Regions from separate parts of the Homo sapiens genome. Here region 1 is linked to region 2. The links are contacts of gene promoters, found by promoter capture Hi-C in blood cells and fetal thymus (Javierre and others, 2016). All regions are on one chromosome and are shown on one strand. The core of a region is centred on a gene start or on the middle of the fragment in contact, and the rest is flanking DNA. Distances in the headings are between cores, read along the strand shown.

Region 1 (4,593 bases), core at 1,075-3,574, 160 kb after region 2:
GTGGGTAAAGTTGGCATGAGTCCATCTGAATGAGGACCAGGCAGGCAGAATATGAGAGGAAGCTGTGCCATCGTTCAAAGCATCCTATATTTTGTTCTTTTTTTGTTGGCTTCAATTAAAGGTACAGAATATTTCAGGAAGTTTAGAAAATAGAAGGAAAAAATAACCCCAACTCTCCCTACTCTAGCATAGTTCATCTTTTTTCATTTTCCAGTTTTCGTCCGTAATATCTTGCATTTAGCCTAAGCTGTGGAACCTGGAAACATAGAGGCCAAATAGGACTGACCAGGGGCCTTGGGGTTTTCTGTTTTGAAGCTGCAGGTGGGAAGCCCATCACCATGACACTGGGGCAGGCTTCAGCAGGGGCCAAGGAGCTCACAGGACTTCTCACCACAGCCAAGTGAGTGTTTATTGGACCATCTGTGTCTATTCCTTTTTTCCCTTCCCTCTGTTTCTGGTTTATTTAGTGCTTTGGAAAATGATGGATTCTGGATTCTTGTCAGTTTTGGAAATGTGACTTACTTCTGATTGGGATCTTTGTCTTGCTTTTGAGTCAACCCAGAGTTCACTTTTACTTAAGACTCCAAATCGTCCCCTGGCTTTTGCTATAAGTCCTGTAAGTAAGGACTTTTAGAAGACTAGAGGCCAGGTACAGAAAGTGGGACAAAGAAGCTGAAGGTTTTTGGTGTATGTCTGCTGCTGAAAGCCTTGCTGGGCCCCACTCTGTACCCTGCCAGTGTTGCTAGGGCTTGCTGTCCTGTGACCTTTGGATAACAGAGCTCCTTCCTTTGTCTCCAGGTCCAGTTCTTCTGAAGGTGGAGTCTCAGCCAGCCCAGTCCCTTCAGTGGTCTCCAGCAGCACTGCACCCAGTGCCTTGCACACACTGCAGAGCCGCCTGGTGGCCACATCTCCTGGCAGCTCCCTCCCAGGTATCTTGTGGCCCAGCATTCTCCCCTTCCAACACAGAATTTTTGGTCTGCTGCTTCTGGGTGGTCCTGGGAAAGCATCCCTGGAGCTAAATCCATAGGATGGGCCTCTGGGTCTTAGAGTGATCATAGAGGCTTGACGTGAAGCTGGAATTAGCTTGGGCAGAGGGATTCCTTGGCCTTGAATAAATGCAGTGAGTAAATGTCCTGGTCTGCAAGTGAGTAAATGTTCCAGTCTACAGGTGCTGTATCCTCTACTGTAAGGAGAAATAGCCGATAGGACATATATGTATAGTCAGCCTTTCTTATCCACAGGAGATTGGTTCTAGGACCCTCACCACTACCAAAATCCATGGATGCTCAAGTCCCTTATATGAAATTATGTCATACCGTTGGAATTCTATATCCACAGGTTTCTATCCGTGGTTGTTTGAATCTGCAAATCTGCTGTGAAGCTCACAGATAATTGAGAGCTGACTGTGGTTTTACTTTGCTGTTTTAAGCACATCTGCCTGAATAAAACTGGAAATGGTGCTACACTGGGCATTAGCAAAATGAGACATTTTTCTGTCTGTGCTTGTCTCTCTCTTTGTCCTACCCACTAACCCTACTTTGAAAGGCCTGTTGCCTGAGCCCAGCAGGGCCAAGGCATTGCAGAAACCCTCTCCTGGCCAGGCATGGTGACTCACACCTGTAATCCCAACACTTTGGGAGGCCGAGGTGGGTGGATCACCTGAGGTCAGGAGTTTGAGACCAGCCTGGCCAATATGGTGAAACCCCGTTTCTACTAAAAATACAAAAAATTAGCCGGGTGTGGTGGTGGGCACCTGTAATCCCAGCTGCTTGGTAGGCTGAGGCAGGAGAATCGCTTGAACCCAGGAGGTGGAGGTTGCAGTGAGCTGAGATTGTGCCATTGCGCTCCAGCCTGGGCAACGAGAGCGAAACTCCGTCTCAAAAAAAAATAAAATAAAATAAACCCTTTTCCTTTAAGAGAACCTTTCTTATTGCTTTGAGGCTACTTCCTTACTGCTTTGATTGTGTGAGGCGAAGTGAAAGTTGGATATTTATAATTCTTTTGGCTTAAAAAGTTCTTCCCTGGAAAGAAAGGAACAAACTTGGATTTCTCAAAATGGTCTAAAATGTATGACTGATGGTTTGCAGCAGGTGCAGAGCAAGTCCGGGGCAGTGTCTGGCACAGTACCTTTCCTGTGTGGCATCCATTGCGTGTGTGCCTAGTTGGGGAGAGCTTCCTGCCTTCTCTCTGAGGACGGGTGTCCAAGGGCAAGCACCACTGGTGTTTTAGTTGGTGGTGAGGGTGGATGGATGTGGCTGCTCTCGGGATAGTGCAAGTGATTGAGTCTCTACTGATTCCTGCTATGTCCTCTCTTAGGGGCCACATCAGCCAGCAGCCTCCTCCAAGGCCTCAGCTTCAGCTTGCAGGATATCAGCAGCAAGACCTCTGGCCTTCCAGCAAATCCCTCCCCAGGACCAGCCCCACAGGTGCACATCTGCCATCTGCTGGGCTGGGCAGGTGTAGGGAGGAGGCCTCCTCAGCTTAGTTGGTTTTGGCAGGGAAACTAGGTCTGGAGTCAGTGGATCAAGGACAAACAGCCTTCTAGCTACATAGCAGGGAACTTACAAAAGTTAAGGTCTATCATTTACTGTGTGACCTTGGGCAAGTTTCTTGACCACTCTGTTTTTGTTTCTTTGTCTATAAAATGAGGTAATAATAGTACCTCCCTCATAGAGTTGTTATAAGAATGAAATAATATATGCAAAATGCCTGGAAGAGTACCTTGCATGTAGTAGGCACTCAATACATGTTAGCCTTTAATAATATGCTGTGGGCCCTCCAAGCTCGAATGTTGCTGTTGGGCGACAGCTTCTGATCACCTGGGCTTGTGTGTCCCACAGGCCACCAGTGTGAAGTTGCCCACCCCCATGCAGAGCCTGGGTGCCATCACCACGGGCACCAGCACCATTGTCCGTACCATTCCTGTGGCCACCACTCTCTCCTCCTTGGGTGCCACTCCTGGTGGGAAGCCCACAGCCATCCACCAGCTGCTGACCAATGGGGGCCTCGCTAAGTTGGCAAGCAGCCTCCCTGGCCTGGCTCAGATCTCTAACCAAGCATCAGGTGAGTCTCTCATGAGAACTGTGGGGACTCCCAGATCTGGGATCTTTCCCCCAGGACCTTCCCATCTCATGTGGGCAAGGTATGATGTTGAAACCAGTCCCACAGGGTCCTGGCATTGACCTTTGGATTCAGCTGTGTGGACCCATCCCCCAGAGAGGTTGAGAGAACACAGGCTGTTTCCTGTTGCCTTTCAGATTGACTGATAGGGCATAGATGACCCAGCTGGGGAGGAGGCCAAGGGACTGTGTTATGTGGGGGAGAAGCTCTCCAGGAAAGGAAAGCCTCAGTAGAAGGTGGAGAGTGTGACTCAAAAATTCTGCTTCTCTCTCTTTATCTCAGGCTTGAAGGTCCCCACCACCATTACTCTGACACTTCGTGGCCAGCCGAGCAGGATCACTACACTGAGCCCTATGGGCTCAGGAGCAGCCCCATCCGAGGAGTCCTCTTCCCAGGTGCTGCCCTCCAGCTCACAGGTGAGTCTGCCAGGAAGGACTGAGGACATGGGCTTCATTATTGGGAAGTTTAAGACCAGCTGACTGGCTGATTGAAGGGGCTGCCCATGCACTGGACAGACGAGATTCAGATTCAAATTCAAATCTGTATTCTGGAGTTTGTGGCTTTATAATATTGAGCGAATCATGGACATCTTTGAGCTTCCTCTTCTACATCCCTCCCTTGATATTGTGAAGAGTACATATGTTCAAGTGGGTAGCAGTGTCTAGTATTTAATGTTTTTGTTTACTTTTCCTTTCGTTTCATTTTTTTCTCATCCTTGGTTTCATCCTTCAGAGGTTATGAGTAGAGGCTACTTGGCTAATGCTCTTTCTTTGTTTTTATTTTTATTTTTTGAGATGGAGTCTTGCTCTATCGCCCAAGCTGGAGTGCAGGGGTGTGATCTCGGCTCCCTGCAACCTCCACCTCCCCGGTTCAAGCAATTCTCCTGCCTCAGCCTCCCAAGTAACTGGGATTACAGGCGCCCGCCACCATGCCCGGCTACAACAGGGTTTCACTGTGTTGACCAGGCTGGCCTCGTACTCCTGACCTCAAGTGATCTACTTGTCTCGGCCTCTGAAAGTGCTGGGATTACAGGTGTGAGCCACCGCTCCTGGCCCTTTCTTTGTTTTTAAGGACATGGAGACAGAGATATCTCACTATGTTGCCCAAGCTGGCCTTGAACTCCAAGGTTTAAGTGGTCCTCCCGCCTCGGCCCCCAAGTATAATACTCTTTCTTTGACATTGGCTTTCTAGCACTGTGCCTTCCCATATCTTAGCATTTATTGCTGTCTTTTTAGGGCACAGCTAGGTTTTTATAGGTCTCACCCAGGAAGTCATGATTAGTTTCTCTTAGCTGATCTAATTTCCCCTGTGACCTTTTCAAGTCAAATATTTCTAATCTTAAAATGGTAATCTGAGGAGCCACTCAAAGATTAGAAGTTAAGCCAAAAAACAGTTTGAGTCTAGTACTGAGTGTGCTTTCCTTCAGTATCCGCTATACAGCCAAGGCCTTCCTGTGTCTCCCTGTCCTTTCCA
Region 2 (4,773 bases), core at 339-2,838:
GAACACTAAAGCCAGCAGACACAAAACACGCCAGGGGAAAAGAGGCGTCAAGAGGAAATTGAACCAGGGGAACTACATCTGGCCTTACCCTTCTTGAACTCCTCCAGCATGGCATCCAACTTGGTGTCATGGAAGACAAAGTGCACCGGGTGGTTATAGAAGCGAGTGATAGTCTTGAGGGGGGTGCAGTCATCGGGGTCCACAAAGGCCAAGTCTTTGACGTAGAGAATATCTACAATATTGGACTGCTCGTCTTCGAACACCGGGATGCGAGTATAGCCGCTTTCCATTATCTCCGACATGGTGTTGAAGTCCAGGATGGCATCGCTGCGGATCATGAAGCAGTCCTGGAGCTGGGTCATGATATCCTCTACAGTTTTGGTCCGTAGTTCCAGGGCACCCTGGATCATATTGAGCTCCTCTTTCACGAGGTCATTATAGGGCTCCGTCACCTTCAACATCTCCATCAGCTTCTCCCGGTTGTAAACAGTGCGAATCTCCTGGCCCAGAAAAAAGTCCAGGAGCTTGCTAATGGGAAAACTGAGGGGGAAGGTGAGTAGCATAAAGAATTTGGTGAGAAGGATGGTGTTGGCACCCACAGCCAGCCCATGTCGGGAGCACAGGGCCTGAGGTAGGATCTCCCCAAAGATGACAATGCCAATGGTGGAGGAGGCCACCGCCATGAGGCCGGACCCGATGAGGTTGTCTAGAAGGATTGTGAGGGAGGTGTTGACCAGCACGTTCCCTAGGAGCAACGAGCAGAGAAGGTAGTTGCCCTTGCGCCGGATGGGCTCAATCTTGCGGGCATAGCGCCTCTCCTTCTCGGTGCCACAGTTCTGCACGATGCGCAGCTCCATGGGGTCCAGGGCCATAAGCCCGAGGTTGAGGCCAGAAAATATGCCCGACAGCACCAGCAGCACCGTAATTAGGAGAATGTGCAGCCAGAGAGGCAGGAACCTCCCAGGCTCCTCCACCATGAAGAGCAGTGAGTCCTTGTCCGTCCACTTCAGCCAGGGCCCGTCGGGCTGGGCCCGGGTGCACAGTGCATACAGCTTCATGCTCTCGCTCCTCCGGAGGAACTTGGTGAGCACCACCAGCACGCCGGACGTGTTCCCGCGGCTCACGTTGACCAGCTGCTGGACGACCAGGTCCTTGGTGAGCTCGAGGCAGCTGGTGGACTTGTGGAGGGTCTCGGCATCGTCCACCTCGGTGAAGGAGATCAGGTTGCTGGAGATGTTGCCCAGGCTGTAGCCGTACAGCCTCAGGTTCACGGTGCTGCCCTCGGACACGAAGATGATGCCATCCGGGTTCGTCCCACACGACTTGTTGCAGCTCGCCAGCCTCATGCCCACGATCGTGCCCTGCTGGGGGCTGCCCTGGCCCCGGGCCCCCAGCGCCCACAGCAGCACCAGCAGCACCGGCGCCGCCAGGAGGAGGCGCCCGCGGGCCGGTCCGCCGACCGGGCGCCCGCCCCCGCCCACCGGCGCCATGTTGCTCTGGCTCTGCCGCCGCCGCCGCTCCCCGCGCCACGCCGCGCGGCCCCGGTCCGCACCGCAGCTCCGGCCGCTCCGCTGCCGCCGAGCCAACTGCCCGGGCCGCGAGCCTGACGTCAGGTCAGCGCCCCGCCCGCCCCGCCCCGCCTGCCCACGCCCCTCATTTGCATTGGAGGCCCCGCCCCCGGGGCTCGCTGCTTGAGCGCCCGCCCTTAAGGGGGTACAGTCGCTTAAGGTGGAGCAGCGCCGCCGCGCGAGAGCCGCCAGCGGGTACCCGCCCAGTGCTCCGCCTCCGCGCCCTTCCCCGCCTTTCTCTGCCAGTGGGGCCAGCTCTCCTTCTCCGGGACCTGGTCTCCTAGCTACGCCGTTCCTGTTCCTCGGCCTCGCACGGCCGCACGTGGGAGGCTCCTCTCCCGTCCCTCACCTGCAGCTAGGGGTGGCCCGCTCTGCAGGCAGGGCGAGAAAAGTGCTTTTCCTGATGTAGAAAAAGAAAAAGGAAACCTGAGGGCTTAGGCTGGCATTGCAGCCTGCCCCTTGGAGACTTTTCTGGCCTCCTCACTGCTGAGATTTTTGCCGACCTTGTCCTAAGGCCAGAAGTAGGTTACCCCAGCCCCAGCCCCAGCCCGACGATGCTTCCATCAACCAGTGGCTGCCTGATGTGGAAGGCAAATCTGGGGAACTAAGGTTATAGAAGGGGCAGGCTCTGGCCTAGACTTCTCTCCTGTCTCTTCCATTTAGGCATAGATATTTATTGAACACCTACTTTGTACCAGGCACTTGTTCTAGGCTCTGACAATAGAGCAGTGAACAAGCCAAAGTCGCTGCCCATTGGGGTTTACAGTCTAGAACAGAAAACAGGAGATAAACAAGTAAACACATATATTCATTAAATCCCCCCAACAACCCTCAGAGTTAGTAGAATTATTTCCATTTAGAGATGCAGAAATTGAGCCGAGACAAAAATCCTGGTGCCTCCATACTGTCATCTCCCAGCCCATTTCTCCATCTGTAAATGGGGGTAAGAATGACAGAGCATTACTTCGCTAAGCTTGCGGGATTGTGGACCTAGACATTGAACATGACAGGACAGCTCTTTAGAATATTCTTTGGCTAGGTAGTAGTTGTTGCTACCTGCCTTCCAGGACCAAACTCCTAACCCCAAATTGTGGTGATTGATCAGCTGGGCAGCTGCTTGTGGACATGAGCAGGCAGGCGCGGCAGTGGGCCTATCCCTGAAATGACTGCTTCCTGAATGGCCCTAGCCCTGTGTCAGTAGGGTGTATAAGGAAGACCACAGCTGCCCGCCCTGTGAGGGGGAAGAAGACAGACAGATAAACATCCTTACAATAATTGCACAGGTGCACAGAGAAGATCAGGTACTGGGTTGACCACCAGGTCTCACAGCAAATCTTTTGCCAGTACTGAAGACACAGAACCCACTTTACTCCCTTCCCGCACTGACACTTGTATTTATTTTCATTTTGGTGTAATGTTTGCTAATAAAAGCAGCAATCAGTACCAAACGGAAGGAGCCTAAACAGAAAGGATCACACAATGTTGTGGGAGGAGGTGTGGTAGCAGAGAGGCCCTGACTCAAGAAAGCCCTGTTAGCTGGGATTGAGGGTTCTGTAAACTAGGCCAGCCTGGAGAAGTATGTTGCTAGTAGGGGCCCCACTCATAGCGGATACTTTGCAGTGAGTGCCCAGCAGGTCAGTTTTTTCGAGGAATAGGAGCCTTGGAATGGGCACTGGCTGAGACAGAACAAAAGCAGAACCTTGACTGCCTGTTCCTTCCCTGTCTCCACCAACCAGGAAGAGCTACCTGAATTGCCTCAAAGCAAACCCAGCTCTCCTCATCTCCTAGTGAGCTGTAACACCAGCGCCCTGCTCCACCCCTACCCCCACCTCCCATACTTAGAAACTTTCCCATTCTATTATCAATCAATTGGCTATTTTTTCCCTTTTTCTTATGATTTTATTTTTTTCTCTATTATGTCTTTTTTCTGCTTAAGTACGAATTGGCTCCTTTTATTTTACCCTTTTCAGGCTGTCTACACTCAGAAGCTCTGTTCATATGCACTGAGTCTAATGACAGAAGCCAATAAAGAAAAGGAAAAATAAGTTTTTTAGATATTTAGGTTAAATGTGGGATTACCAGCTTGGGCAACATAGCAAAAACTCATTTCCACTAAAAATTTAAAAAATAAAAAGTTAGCTTGGCATGATGGTGCACACCTGTAGTCCCAGGACCTTGGGAGGCCAAGGCGGGCAGATCACCTGAGGTCAGGAGTTCAAGACCAGCCTGGCCAAGATGATGAAACCCCGTCTCTACTAAAAATACACAGTTAGCCAGGTGAGGTGATGCACGCCTGTAGTCCCAGCTACCCGGGAGGCTGAGGCAGGAGAATCACTTGAACCCGGGAGGCGGAGGTTGCAGTGAGCCGAGATCACGCCACTCACTCCAGCCTGGGTGACAGAGCGAGACTCCATCTCAAAAAATAAATAAATAAATAAATAAATAAATAAATAAATAAATAAAAATAAAAAGATAAACACAGTATCACTTGTTGGAGAAGGCACACGGGGCCCAGGCCGAAGTCCAGGTTCATTTGCTGCCAGCTTGCAACCCTGGTTAGGGAGTCTGCCTTTTCTGCATCTGCCATGTCGAAATACCTCTCCCACCGTAGGGACAGCATGGAGATAGCAGTCTATTAACATGCTGAGTCAGGAAGCTTGGATGCATGTGTGGCTCTCTGTTAGCCAGGCGGTGAGAATGGCAGAAAGCAAACGTGCAAGCGAGGAGCCTCTCTCCTTTGGGGGCAGATAAAGGCATGATCAAACCTGTTTTCTCTGCCTCAAGGTGGCAAGTCCTTACTTACCTAGTTGCTTCTATTTGCAAGTAGAAATTGCCCAGAGGAGTCCTGATCCTGGACCCCTGAGCATGTAACAGCACCCTAGTCATGAGATCCTTGGAGCTCACTGCTTCTTTCCAGGTGTAAGCCCTATGGCAACATGGCTACACCTCCCATAATTGAGCCCACTCCCTTCTGGTTCTGTGCAGGGAAACAGTCTTAAAGGCTTAGTGCCCCTTCACTTGTACCTGGCATCATGCTGATGCTGGAGATCCGATGATGAACAAGGATCCTGAATTAGTAACCTGGGATCTAATCCTCCCAGGCTAGCTTCTTAGCCCTCTTCACCCTCTGGGTCTCCAAGATGGGGTGCTGCTGGCAGAGGAGCTGCTGGCAGAGAAGCTGCTGGCAGAGAAGCTGCCCTTCCGC

The links. Contacts are between HindIII fragments. The CHiCAGO score rates a contact against its expected background, and 5 or more counts as called.
Region 1: a contact is called between a fragment that was not itself captured here and the fragment with the promoter of CNNM4 in region 2, in 17 of 17 cell types (megakaryocytes, M0 macrophages, monocytes and 14 more). The highest score is 20.7, in megakaryocytes.

The regions. Positions count from the first base shown.
Region 1 is chr2:96,600,586-96,605,178 of GRCh38, reverse strand. It overlaps KANSL3 (KAT8 regulatory NSL complex subunit 3), which reads left to right. Exons shown (of 21, transcript NM_001115016.3): 16 at 316-400; 17 at 799-929; 18 at 2,317-2,426; 19 at 2,841-3,063; 20 at 3,403-3,536. Among named protein-coding and RNA genes, the nearest start is that of KANSL3, 35 kb to the left of the region's middle. The HindIII fragment of the contact is 6,934 bases long and covers 1-4,593 here.
Region 2 is chr2:96,757,717-96,762,489 of GRCh38, reverse strand. It overlaps CNNM4 (cyclin and CBS domain divalent metal cation transport mediator 4), which reads right to left and starts at 1,588. Exons shown (of 7, transcript NM_020184.4): 1 at 89-1,588. The coding sequence starts at 1,490. RefSeq lists enhancers at 363-951, 831-1,080, 952-1,541, 2,101-2,150 and silencers at 1,044-1,227, 1,351-1,770. The HindIII fragment of the contact is 3,226 bases long and covers 1-2,543 here.